Linked DNA regions of Homo sapiens: all the other regions are linked to region 3. The links are contacts of gene promoters, found by promoter capture Hi-C in blood cells and fetal thymus (Javierre and others, 2016). All regions are on one chromosome and are shown on one strand. The core of a region is centred on a gene start or on the middle of the fragment in contact, and the rest is flanking DNA. Distances in the headings are between cores, read along the strand shown. Region 1 holds the start of ZNF260 (zinc finger protein 260). Region 2 overlaps ZNF540 (zinc finger protein 540). Region 3 holds the start of ZNF671 (zinc finger protein 671).

The links. Contacts are between HindIII fragments. The CHiCAGO score rates a contact against its expected background, and 5 or more counts as called.
Region 1: the fragment with the promoter of ZNF260 here is called in contact with the fragment with the promoter of ZNF671 in region 3 in 2 of 17 cell types (non-activated CD4 T cells and naive CD8 T cells); the score reaches 11.3 in non-activated CD4 T cells.
Region 2: a contact is called between a fragment that was not itself captured here and the fragment with the promoter of ZNF671 in region 3, in 1 of 17 cell types (non-activated CD4 T cells). The highest score is 9.6, in non-activated CD4 T cells.

What each region holds. Positions count from the first base shown.
Region 1 is chr19:36,526,165-36,529,617 of GRCh38, forward strand. ZNF260 (zinc finger protein 260) reads right to left here and starts at 2,107. Exons shown (of 3, transcript NM_001166037.2): 1 at 2,055-2,107. RefSeq lists enhancers at 1,404-2,114, 1,855-2,484, 2,115-2,823, 2,635-2,834. The HindIII fragment of the contact is 4,591 bases long and covers 575-3,453 here.
Region 2 is chr19:37,597,639-37,601,519 of GRCh38, forward strand. It overlaps ZNF540 (zinc finger protein 540), which reads left to right. Exons shown (of 5, transcript NM_001172225.3): 2 at 738-818; 3 at 1,988-2,114; 4 at 3,372-3,467. The coding sequence starts at 810. Among named protein-coding and RNA genes, the nearest start is that of ZNF540, 4.7 kb to the left of the region's middle. The HindIII fragment of the contact is 966 bases long and covers 1,860-2,825 here.
Region 3 is chr19:57,725,484-57,729,019 of GRCh38, forward strand. ZNF671 (zinc finger protein 671) reads right to left here and starts at 2,141. Exons shown (of 4, transcript NM_024833.3): 1 at 1,908-2,141. The coding sequence starts at 2,045. RefSeq lists enhancers at 1,840-2,340, 1,858-2,297, 2,438-2,487 and a silencer at 2,294-2,519. The HindIII fragment of the contact is 7,103 bases long and covers 1-2,884 here.

The sequences.
Region 1 (3,453 bases), core at 857-3,356, about 21 Mb before region 3:
ATAATCTTCCCTTGATATCACAGGAGATTGGTTCCAGGATCACTGTGGATACCAAAATCTGCAGATGCTCAAGTCCCTTATACTTCAAATATAAAGCCAGGCATGGTGGCTCACGCCTGTAATCCCAGCACTTTGGGAGGCTGAGGCAGGCTGACCACCTGAGGTCAGGAGTTCGAGACCAGGCTGGCCAAGATGGTGAAACCCTGTCTCTACTAAAAATAAAAAAATTAGCTGGGCATGGTGGCACACACCTGTACCTCAGCTACTTGGGAGGCTGAGGCAGGAGAATCGCTTGAACCCAGGAGGCAGAGGTGGCAGTGAGCCGAGATTGCACCACTGCACTCCAGTCTGGGTGACAGAGTGAGACTCCATCTCAAAAAAATAAAAATAAAGTGAATGGAAGTATATTTACATATAACCTATGCACATCCTCCCATATACTTTAAAATTATCTCCAGATTACTTATCATACGTAATACAACGTAAATGTCTGGTAAATAGTTGTTATACTGTATTGTTTAGGGAATCATGACAAGAAAAAAAAATCTGTACACGTACAGATACAACCATCGCAAGCTTAACAACAGTTATGATTCATGTTTGTTGAATCCGTGGAAGCAGAGCCTACAGACACAGAGGGCTGACTGTTCATTCACTGATTCAGCAAACATATACATTTATGATTATGTGTGCTGAGAAACCTTGGTTTACAATTTGTAATGGGATATAACAAATCAAAGGATCAAACTTACTTAGAAGCCTTCTCTAAGATGTAAGTGCCTTAGAACCTGGCTAGACAGTGCTATAAATTGCTGAAACAGGTACAGAGGGGAAATAGATGGAGGCAGACTGCAGGAAGAAGGAGCCCTTTAGACATAAAGAGCTTGAAGTTCCCTGTAACTTCCAGGTGGACTGCACATTGGGCAATTAGATAATATGGATTAGGAGCTCAGGACAAGCCTCCAGCAGAAACAGACATTTATTAGTCATCTGTATTAGATGAAGCCATGGATGGCAGTGTAATGTTGTTGCTGATAGGAGTACTTAGATGATCAAGGCCAGAAACTTAGAAACACCAATAGTTAGGGGAAAAGCAGAAACTAAGTCCTGTCTTCTTTGTATCTTTTACTTTTTCTGTATATTTCAAAACTATTAACCCTGTTACTTTTTTATTTTATTGAAAAATATGTTAAGAATAAGTGTGACAAGATACTTGAATATGTTGATATGTTAAGAATAAGTGTGACAAGATACTTGAAGATAGGATACTTCTATCTTTGTATACACAAGAAAAGAATTTCCCCTATATTTACAAAAGGCTGGGGAAACCCTGATTAAATTAGGAGTGAGATTGCTGCCCTCACTGACGAACTAGGGAGTTTCTTGACCTCTGCGCTAAAGGCAGGACAAGTAGCTTCCAAATTCTGTGCCGTCTGCGCTATTGGAAACTACCTCTTAAAGATATTCCTTAGTTCAGGGTTTCTCCAAGCAACTGCACCAAAGTTTCTCCAAAGTATTAAGAAAAGTCAATGCCTACTGGGTGTACAGGCACCCAGTAACAAGTTTTTCCGAAATCTTGCCTCTTTAAAAAAATAATGGAAAGGTAATGCTGATTTTGTTTTCTACTCCACAATAGGTCTGCTTTTATATAAAAAATCACCTTTAAAATTACTTATCCGCTCAATTCCTTAGCCTTTTCCGTTTCCTATTTTCCAGAAAACGCATCTTTATTATTTTAGAAATGAGAAAAGTGAGGCTTAGAGGTTACTACCTCACAAAGCCATCCGTCCATCCTCACAAACTTGGAACCAGTTTCTCACTAACTCTGCACCCTCAACACCCCCTCACACTCTCGGTCACCCACCCGCGAACCCACCCGAACTGTACCCCTGCCCCCAGCCACACAAGCTCGGATCACCGCACATCATAGAAGGCGATTCCTCCCCTCCATACTCCCAGCCCCGTCGCAGGCACTGCAAATCCTCCCCTCCAGCGTCCCTGGCCCGTTTCAGTGTCCAGAAACCCAAGTCCCACAGGGCCGAAACCCAACTCACCGGCAGACAAAGACGACCATGGCAAGTCGGAGATTCCGCGCCTGCGCACTCCTTCCGCGGGCAGCGCTCCCAGAGGTCTCCTGGGCTGGGCCAGGCCCCGACTCAGAACCGGACGGAATCGAGAGATCTTGGCCCGTCCTCCGTGCCACTCTTTTGAGGGTAGACTACATTTCCCAGAAGGTTCAGCGGTTTGAGTCAGCTTTTCGCGCGAACTTTTCCTCCGCCAGAGCTTGTGGGACTGTCTCCCTGGCCGGGGCAGGGGTGTAAGGCCTTAGTCTTAGTTTACTCTATCCCTGGGATTGGGTAGTGGTGTAACATCAGCTTAAACACGCTGTGCTGACTTTATGTAACAGCCACGGTGCGATACTAAGCCAGGAACCCCAGGAGACTCTCAGACACGGTTCGGGAATGAGGGTAATCCCTTTGGCTGGGCTCAAGCCGGGCGCCATCTTGCTCATCGCGGGCGTGGCGCTGAACTACATTTCCCAGAAGGCGCCGCGCCCTCGGCCCCTCCCCTCGCGACTCCCGCGGCTCGGGGGAGAGCTGCACGCGACCCAGGTGCTGGCCTCTGAGCGGGTCGGCTCGGAGACTACAGGATCAGGAGGAGGTTGGAGGTGAAGCGTCTGGAATCCGGTGCGGAGGTTGAGACTGAGTATTAAGTCTGTTCAGGCGGAACGCGCCGAGAAGGGCGGTTGTGAAATTGTGTTTTTGTGAATGTATGTCCTAGCACAGTGTGTGTGTGATTGTGATTGTGTGTGACACCTTGTGTACGGATGTGGGGAGGACTCTGCGGGTGTCCCGTGAGTCCCTGTGTTAGGACTGTTATTGTGTGACTGTGTAACGCTGTGTGAGGGTGTGGGTTAGCTGTGACTGTGTGCCCGCGGTGGGTGTGTGATTGTAACTCTGTGACCATATGTTCGTTTGTGTGCAGATATAGGGAGCTTTGTACTTATGTAGTTGTGACTCTGTGTCCTTGTGTGGGAGTATGGAGGGTGGGTGCTTGTGACTTTGTGTACAGTGGTGGGTGTGTGACTGTGAAGCATTGGGTGTGCGTGGAGTTGAGACTGTGTTTGTGTGTCTTTGACCAAATGTCACACATAGTCATATGTGAGAGCAGAAGACAGCTCGGCCCCGTGATAGTAAAGGGGATTTTTCTATGACACTGAGTTTTGAGTTGGAAGCCCCAGTTTCCTCTGATAGCCCTCCCATGGCGGGGGAGGGGAACGCAGAGTAAGCTCTGGCCTTGTCATTTGGGCCCTAGGGGAGGTGTATTGTCTCCCTTCTCATTTCTGTCCTCCAAGAGAGGTTCCCCAGAGGAGAGGAAATAACGGTTGTGATATCTAAAAGCCATGTTTAAGGTGCCTTGAAGTTTTCTCTTTGTTCCTGAAATGCTTTATTT
Region 2 (3,881 bases), core at 1,093-3,592, about 20 Mb before region 3:
CTGGTCTTGAACTCCCGACCTCAGGTGATCTGCCCGCCTTGACCTCCCAAAGTGCTGGGATTATAGGCGTGAGCCACTGCGCCCAGCCAGCAAATGTTTTTTATAGAGGACCAAATAGGAAGTATTTTAGGCTGTGTGGCCCATACAATCTCCATTGCAACTACTCAACTTGGCTATGGTAGCTTTCTGAAAGTAGCCATAGTCAGAAGTAAACACATGAGCATAGCTGTGTTCCATTCCAGCTTTATTTACAAAAACATATGGGCGGGCCAGATTTGGCCCATGGGCCATAGGTTGCAAACTCCTAGTCTGTTCTATCTTTCGTTTTTAAGTCTGGGGAGGCCAGGAAGCTCCTAAGGCCATGAAGGCAGTCTGCTTTGGATAATGTGGTCTGTCCCCTTTGGATGGTGAGAATTGAGGGAAGAGAATCTACTCTGGGCAATTCTGAACATCCCAGCCTTGGGCCTAGATCAGTATCCTCATAGTGGGGATTGGCCCAGAACTCTCCTGCTGAAATATTGGTCATGTGTTCTAATGCAGGATAACCTCTGCACTGTGTCCATCCTCGTACAGCCAGGTTCCCTTGCTGTGGTGAGTGTGTCGGAGGGAGGTGAGGGAAGTGTAGGGGAGGTATTTGCAAGCAACAGTGGAAAATAAAAGATTATTAATTTATATCATATTGTTACCTCTGAGGCAGACCTAGTCTCACTGTCTCATTTTTTTCTCCTCTAACTCAGGCTTCTCAGAACTTTGCTTCTCCAGCAGAATAATCCTGCGGAAGACTGAGCAGTTCTTGTGAGTGTAAAACCATGGCCCATGTAAGTCACAGTTTCTCTTTCCTTTTTAGATTATTTTGTTTTTAAAGATCATGTGAACATTTTCACTCTTTATGCTGACACTTCCTAAGAATTTTTTCTTCATCCCCACATTTCCAAGCTCCTCCCATGGGCCCCCTCTCTTTTCTAACCAGTATCCACATGCACATTGACCAACTCATTCAGGGTACTCAGTCTCTGTCTAGGGCAGAGATGGAACAGACATGAAGTTCCTAGAGGGGGAGGTACTTTACCATCCTTTGTCAGATCTGAGGTGTAATGAAACCAAGAATGGAATCATTTGACTACACGTAGGAAAGCACTGCAGTTTTCCACAGATCCTGTGTCTGTAGATAAATGCAGTTTAATATTGATTGGCCTCAGTTTCAGTATGTGGTTGGGGCCTGCTTATAGAGAGGCCAGGGGATCTTTCCTGAGAATCTCTGAGGTGAAAACCCATAGTAAGACGCATTTTGTGGTTAAACGGAATGTGCTAGTCTTGACATCAGTATGATTCTGGTTCATTACATCAATATTCTTAATCTCAAGAAAAAAGAAGGTGTGTAGTACTTATAAGAAAATCATCCAGATACATAAATATTAGTTAATTGTATTCTCCCAGATTTGCAGTGAGGTACTATGGCCTCGAACTTCTGAGTTCACCACTGTACTCCAGCGTGGGCAACAGAGTGAGATCTCCGTCTCGATTGATCAATCGATTGATCGATAGATAGATAGATAGATAGATAAACTTAAAGGAAAAAGAGGATATAGGATTCTTTTTTATGTATTAAGTGGTTTTTCTTAAAGTATTTATTATTAAGTAATAATTTATTGAGAATTTTTGAGGTAGAAATATAGTTTATTTGCTTGTATCCACTGTTTAATTGAATTGGGAAACATTTATTTGTTCCCAGAAATGTTTTGAGTAGTTAAAGAACCCCATAATATACAGGAAATTTTGCATATAGTGGCTGGATTCTTCAAGAAAATGAGGTGACTCTGCTTTAGAACACCTGGTTCCTTTCTTCTATCTTTATCATAAGCTTTCAGCCCCAGCCTAGAGTTTAGTATAGTACCCCTTGCTGCAATGAAACCTTTTATCTCCTTTTCTTCTTTTTAAAATACTTGTTCTGTAATTTCACCAGTAATATGTTGGTTTATGGTTTCAGGCATTGGTGACGTTCAGGGATGTGGCTATAGACTTCTCTCAGAAGGAATGGGAGTGCCTGGACACTACCCAGAGGAAATTGTACAGAGATGTGATGTTGGAGAATTATAATAACTTGGTCTCACTGGGTAAGGTCACCTATGTCAAATAATGTAGACTCTGTTATCTGAAATAGTAGCTTTCTCTTCCACAAATTTAGGACTAATTATTAAGAAACTAGCTGAATTTCTTCTCTCTTCCTCAAGGAATGGACTGAACTTTGATGGTTTGTGAATGGCACTTCCACTAAATGCTTTCATTTTCACCATACCTCACTGAGCCTCATGAAATGTTCCTTAATCCATTACTGTAGTTACTTCTTCCTTAATAGTTAAGAGACTGGATTTGAATTTTGGGGCATTTACTCCAAAGCCAATGTCAATGAAATCAGGTTTCACATTGCATTTGAGCTCAGAATTGCTATGGATGCTCTGTTATTTGGTAACATGCCTATAAGGATAACAGCCCTACCCAGGGTCTACAATTTACATGTCATGGTTCAGACCAATAACATTGATTTAAAATTAAAGTGAATGCATTCTACTTCCTAAAACAAATATTTTCTCTTACTGATTTGTGATTGAAAATTTTACCTATTGGACATTATGCTCAGTACCTGGGTGGTGGGATCAAATGTACCTCAAACCTCAGCATCACACAATATCCCCAGGTAACAAACCTGCACGTATGGCCCTGTATCTAAAATAAAAGTTGAAATTAGTTAAAGTAAAATAAAATTTATTAACTTAGCATCTAACTTTAAATGAATATCTTAGCAAGAACCTAGAAATATTTTAGGAAGCTTCTTGTTTTGCTCTAAGTAAATTAACAACAACAAAAATAATAATAGCTAATAGAGTGCTTACTATATACCAGGCATCATTCTAAGTACTAGCTACAAGATACAAAAGAAAAAAAGAAAATAAAAGGTACTACTTTTATTTTCATTTTACAGATGAAAAAACTGAGGCCCAAATAATTTAACCAGTTTGTTTACAATCATTAGTCAATAGGTAGTAGAGTAGAATTTGGACCCACATAGTCTGGCTTCAGAGGCTATGCCCTCAATAACTACTGCCTCTCAATAGAGCCAGTCTGTATGAGTTTTAATTCCAAAATGAATTAAAATTCTCCTAGATGAATTTTAATTCCCCTGCCCATCAAGTTTCTTTATTCTCTGGGATCCTGAGGTTACACTAAGTTGAATATTCTTTAATCCTGTCAGTTTTTTCCGAAGTCTTCATCGAAATCATGTTGATCCATATAAATTTAACCAAGTCTCAAAATGTTTCTGAATGTGCAATGTTTTATTTCTATATATTCTTTTATTTCTTTCTTGTAAGCAGGATATTCTGGCTCAAAGCCAGATGTGATTACCTTACTGGAGCAAGGGAAAGAGCCCTGCGTGGTGGCGAGGGATGTGACAGGAAGACAGTGCCCCGGTGAGTTGAGAGTTCATCAGGCAGATGGAAGCCCTCATTGCCAGTCACGGCCAGCTGGTGAGGGAGCATATACAGGCTTTGCATGCTGTTTAGGGAGTTACTCTCAGAGGCCTCAGGCCTTTGGAGTAAAGGTTAAGACAGGGAAGAAAACAGATCATCTGAGCATGAACTATCAAAAGAACCTCATCTTGGCTCCTACTTACCACCTGTCTTTGTTTTTGTTTCCCCTCGTATTACTCTCCATTTCAGTAAAGGGAATGCTCTTTCCTAGTGCAATCAATTGCTTCCTATCTTTTCTCCATTGACATGTGTGCTTGTTTCTAATGCCTAAAAGTTCAGTCTTTCACATATTCAGCATATATTTACCGAGTGCTCACTCTGTGCCAAGTGTTATCAGTGCCTTGGTGAATAAGG
Region 3 (3,536 bases), core at 891-3,390:
GCGGGGTGTGGTGGTGGGCACCTGTAATCCCAGCTACTCGGGAGGCTGAGGTAGGAGAACTGCTTGAACCCAGGAGACAGGTTGCAGTGAGCCGAGATCGCGCCACTGCACTCCAGCCTGGGTGACAAGAGCAAGACTCCATCTCAAAAAAACAAAACAAAACAAAACCTGGCCAAGGCATGGTGGCTCACTCTTGTAATCCCAGCACTTTGGGAGGCCGAAGGGAGTGGATCAACTGAGGTCACGAGTTTGAGACCAGCCTGGCCAACATGGTGAAACTCTATCTAATAAAATACAAAAATTAGCTGGGCATGGTGATGCATGCCTGTAATCCCAGCTACTGGGAAAACTGAGGCAGGAGAATCACTTGAATCTGGGAGGCAGAAGCTGCAGTGAGCCAAGATCGCACCATTGCACTCCAGCCTGGGTGACAGAGCGAGACTCGTCTCCAAAAAAAAAATAAATAAATAAAATAAAACCAAAGCCAAGTGCAGTGGCTCACAACTGTAATCCAAACACTTTGGAAGGCTGGGGCCGGTGGATCAGTTGAGGTCGGGAGTTCAAGACCACCTGGGCCAACACGGTGAACGTCCCCCCCACTCCCCCGCCCCCACCCCACCCCTCCCACCTCCCCACCCCACCCCACCCCTCCCACCTCCCCACCCCCGTCTCTACTATAAATACTAAAATTAGCCAGGGGTGGTTGTGGGCACCTGTAATCTCAACTACTTGGGAGGCTGAGGCGGGAGAATCTCTTGAACCCGGGAGGTAGAGGTTGCAATAAGCCACTGCATCCCACCCTGGGCGACAGAGTGAGACTTCGTCTCAAAAAAAATAAAAAAAATAAATAAACTAAAACTAAAAGAAAACACACAAAATGAGGGTGAGATAATCAGATAGTAGCAATAGCACACCACCCATCGTTGCCATCCCAGGCCAAACTCCTCATACCCTACAGCTCTCTCCTCCTGCAAACACTGAAAAGAACCCTTTCAAATGGCAGGACCCTTCTCTTCTGGGGGGAGTCTCAAGAATGCCCACTCCCTCTTCCCTGCCCTGCAGTCCCAGCCTTCTCATCTCTTACCCCAGAGATATGAAATAACATACTTAAGACTGCCCCACTTAAATCTGACCTCCTGGCCTTGACCTACTCCAGACCGCTCCCTTCACCCCAAAGATATTCTAAGCCCAGCCCCTTCCCCACAACTTCAGACCTTCCTCTCTAGTTGCCTAAGTGAGGAAGCCTCCACTCTGAGACATCTCAAAGTCACCATTCCAAAATCCAAACGTTCATGGAAAAACAACAAAAACACCTTGCTCTTTCATGCCTTACTTTCAGTCATAGCTGCATATGATGGAGCAGAAAATCCTGTTGGTTTCAAATTTAAAACCTACCCAGAATATGATCACTTCTACCCACTCACCTGCCATTACTCTTGGTACATCCACCACCAAAGCATTCCTGGAATCCACTGCAGTAGCCTCCTTACCGGTCTCCTCGTATCCATCCTCGCAGTCCCCACCCCAAACTAATGTTCTCCCCTGAGCAAATTTCGAGACACTTAAAATCCCAGCTAAGATCACGTCCTTCTATTCAAAACCCTCAGTTAATCTCAACGCCCTCAGAATGAAGCGACAACTTCTCAGCCTGCCATTCCAGTCACAGTTCCTCAAACTCTGCTCTGTGTTGATGAGAACCCTGTCTCCCAAATGTTTGGGGGTCAGCAGCACCCCCGAGCCTTTACCTGCGCCGTCCCCTCCGCCCGTAACTCTCCCACACCCACCCACACCGAGATAGGACCCCGCCCCAAGAGTGCGTCGCTGTCCTGGGACACAGGGGCTGCAGGCACTTTACGATTCGGAGTCGGAGAAAGGGTGACTGAGGGCCCGGAGGACGCAGCACCCACCCGCGCGGAGTCCGTTAGCTCCGCCATAGGACCGTGGGCGCGGACAGCTGCCGGGAGCGGCAGGCGTCTCGATCGGGGACGCAGGCACTTCCGTCCCTGCAGAGCATCAGACGCGTCTCGGGACACTGGGGACAACATCTCCTCCGCGCTTTCCCAACACCTCCACCTGCGGCCCACACAAGCGTTACAGAACCCCGGCCAGGGACAGCCTGACAGAAACAAAATGTCCGCTACAAGGAGGAGCCGGAAGTCCCGCCCACGCACCCCCCGCAGGCACTGAAACACCCCTCTCCTGGGCCCTCATTGGGTATGCAACGTATAGGTTTGTGGGTAGAGTGTGGTTCCCACTGAGCTATCCTTCAAGGCAGGGGATTCTCGGCCTGGGCTCTTGGGAAAACTCGAAGTAGGAGGGCCAAGTTGTTTGGGAAAAGTAACCCGAGTTTCAAAGGGCTGACAGGACTTCCGTCCTCTTTTTTTTTTTTTTTTTTTTTTTTGAGACAGAGTCTCGCTCTGTCTCCCAGGCTGCAGTGCAGTGGCGCGATCTCGGCTGACTGCAACCTCCGCCTCCCGGGTTCAAGCGATTCTCCTGCCTCAGCCTCCCAAGTAATTGGGACTACAGGGGCCCGCCACCACGCCAGGCTAATTTTAGTACTTTTAGCAGAGTACGGGATTTCACCATGTTGGCCAGGCTGGTCTCGAACTCCTGACTTTGTGATTTGCCTGCTTCGGCCTCCCAAAGTGCTGGGATTACAGGAGTGAGCCATGGTGCCCGGCTGACTTCTGTCCTCTTAAAAGGCCTGGACCTAGATTCCCTGGAGTGTAGTATGCACCGATCGCAGAAATGTTGAGACATTTCAGATGTTCCCCAAAGCTGCAAAACTAAATAGATACACCACACCACAATGTCTCTTTGCGTACACTCACAGCTAGAAGCTAATAACTATTACCTTGTTGCTTTTTAAATATGTGTGCACTCAAGCTTTACAGTAACTTTTGTGAGCTTCAGTTTGGTCAGAGACGGAAGAGAAAATATTCCAAACAAGGCCTTGGAGTGGAAGAAGGAAGAGGGATGATGTGGAGTCTCCCTGAAACCAGTGGACAGATTTCTTCAGAAAACTCTTCCTGCCTGGGTAATCAGTGATGTCTCCATCACAGCAAAACACAGTGCAATTACCATTTAACCTGTCATTGTCATTGTAAGTATGGTGTCTGTGTTAGGAGGTGAGATTATCCCCGGGGGAAAAATCCTGACAGCTATTAATAATGATTCCGTAGTTATTTGAAGATAATGAAAGAAATTGCTCTAAGGAAATATCTGTGATAGATGGACAAAGTTAAGATCTCAGTAAAGTTTGAGCCTGAATACTAAAGTATAAGTGAAAGAATGAAGTTAAGCATATGGTTGTGTTGTGATCTTGACCACACTTTGTCAACAAAATGTGACTCTTTTTTCCTGAAAATGCTGAGCAATTGTAAAGAAGATATCAGAATGGTAAAAATCAACAGTGAAGTTGTGCTGTCTTGATAATTCACTGTTAAAATACACATCCAAGGAACACATACGAGCTCTCAGTAGGTGTTTTTCAAATGTGTTAGTAGCATGAAAGACATCACTAATAAAATTTCCAA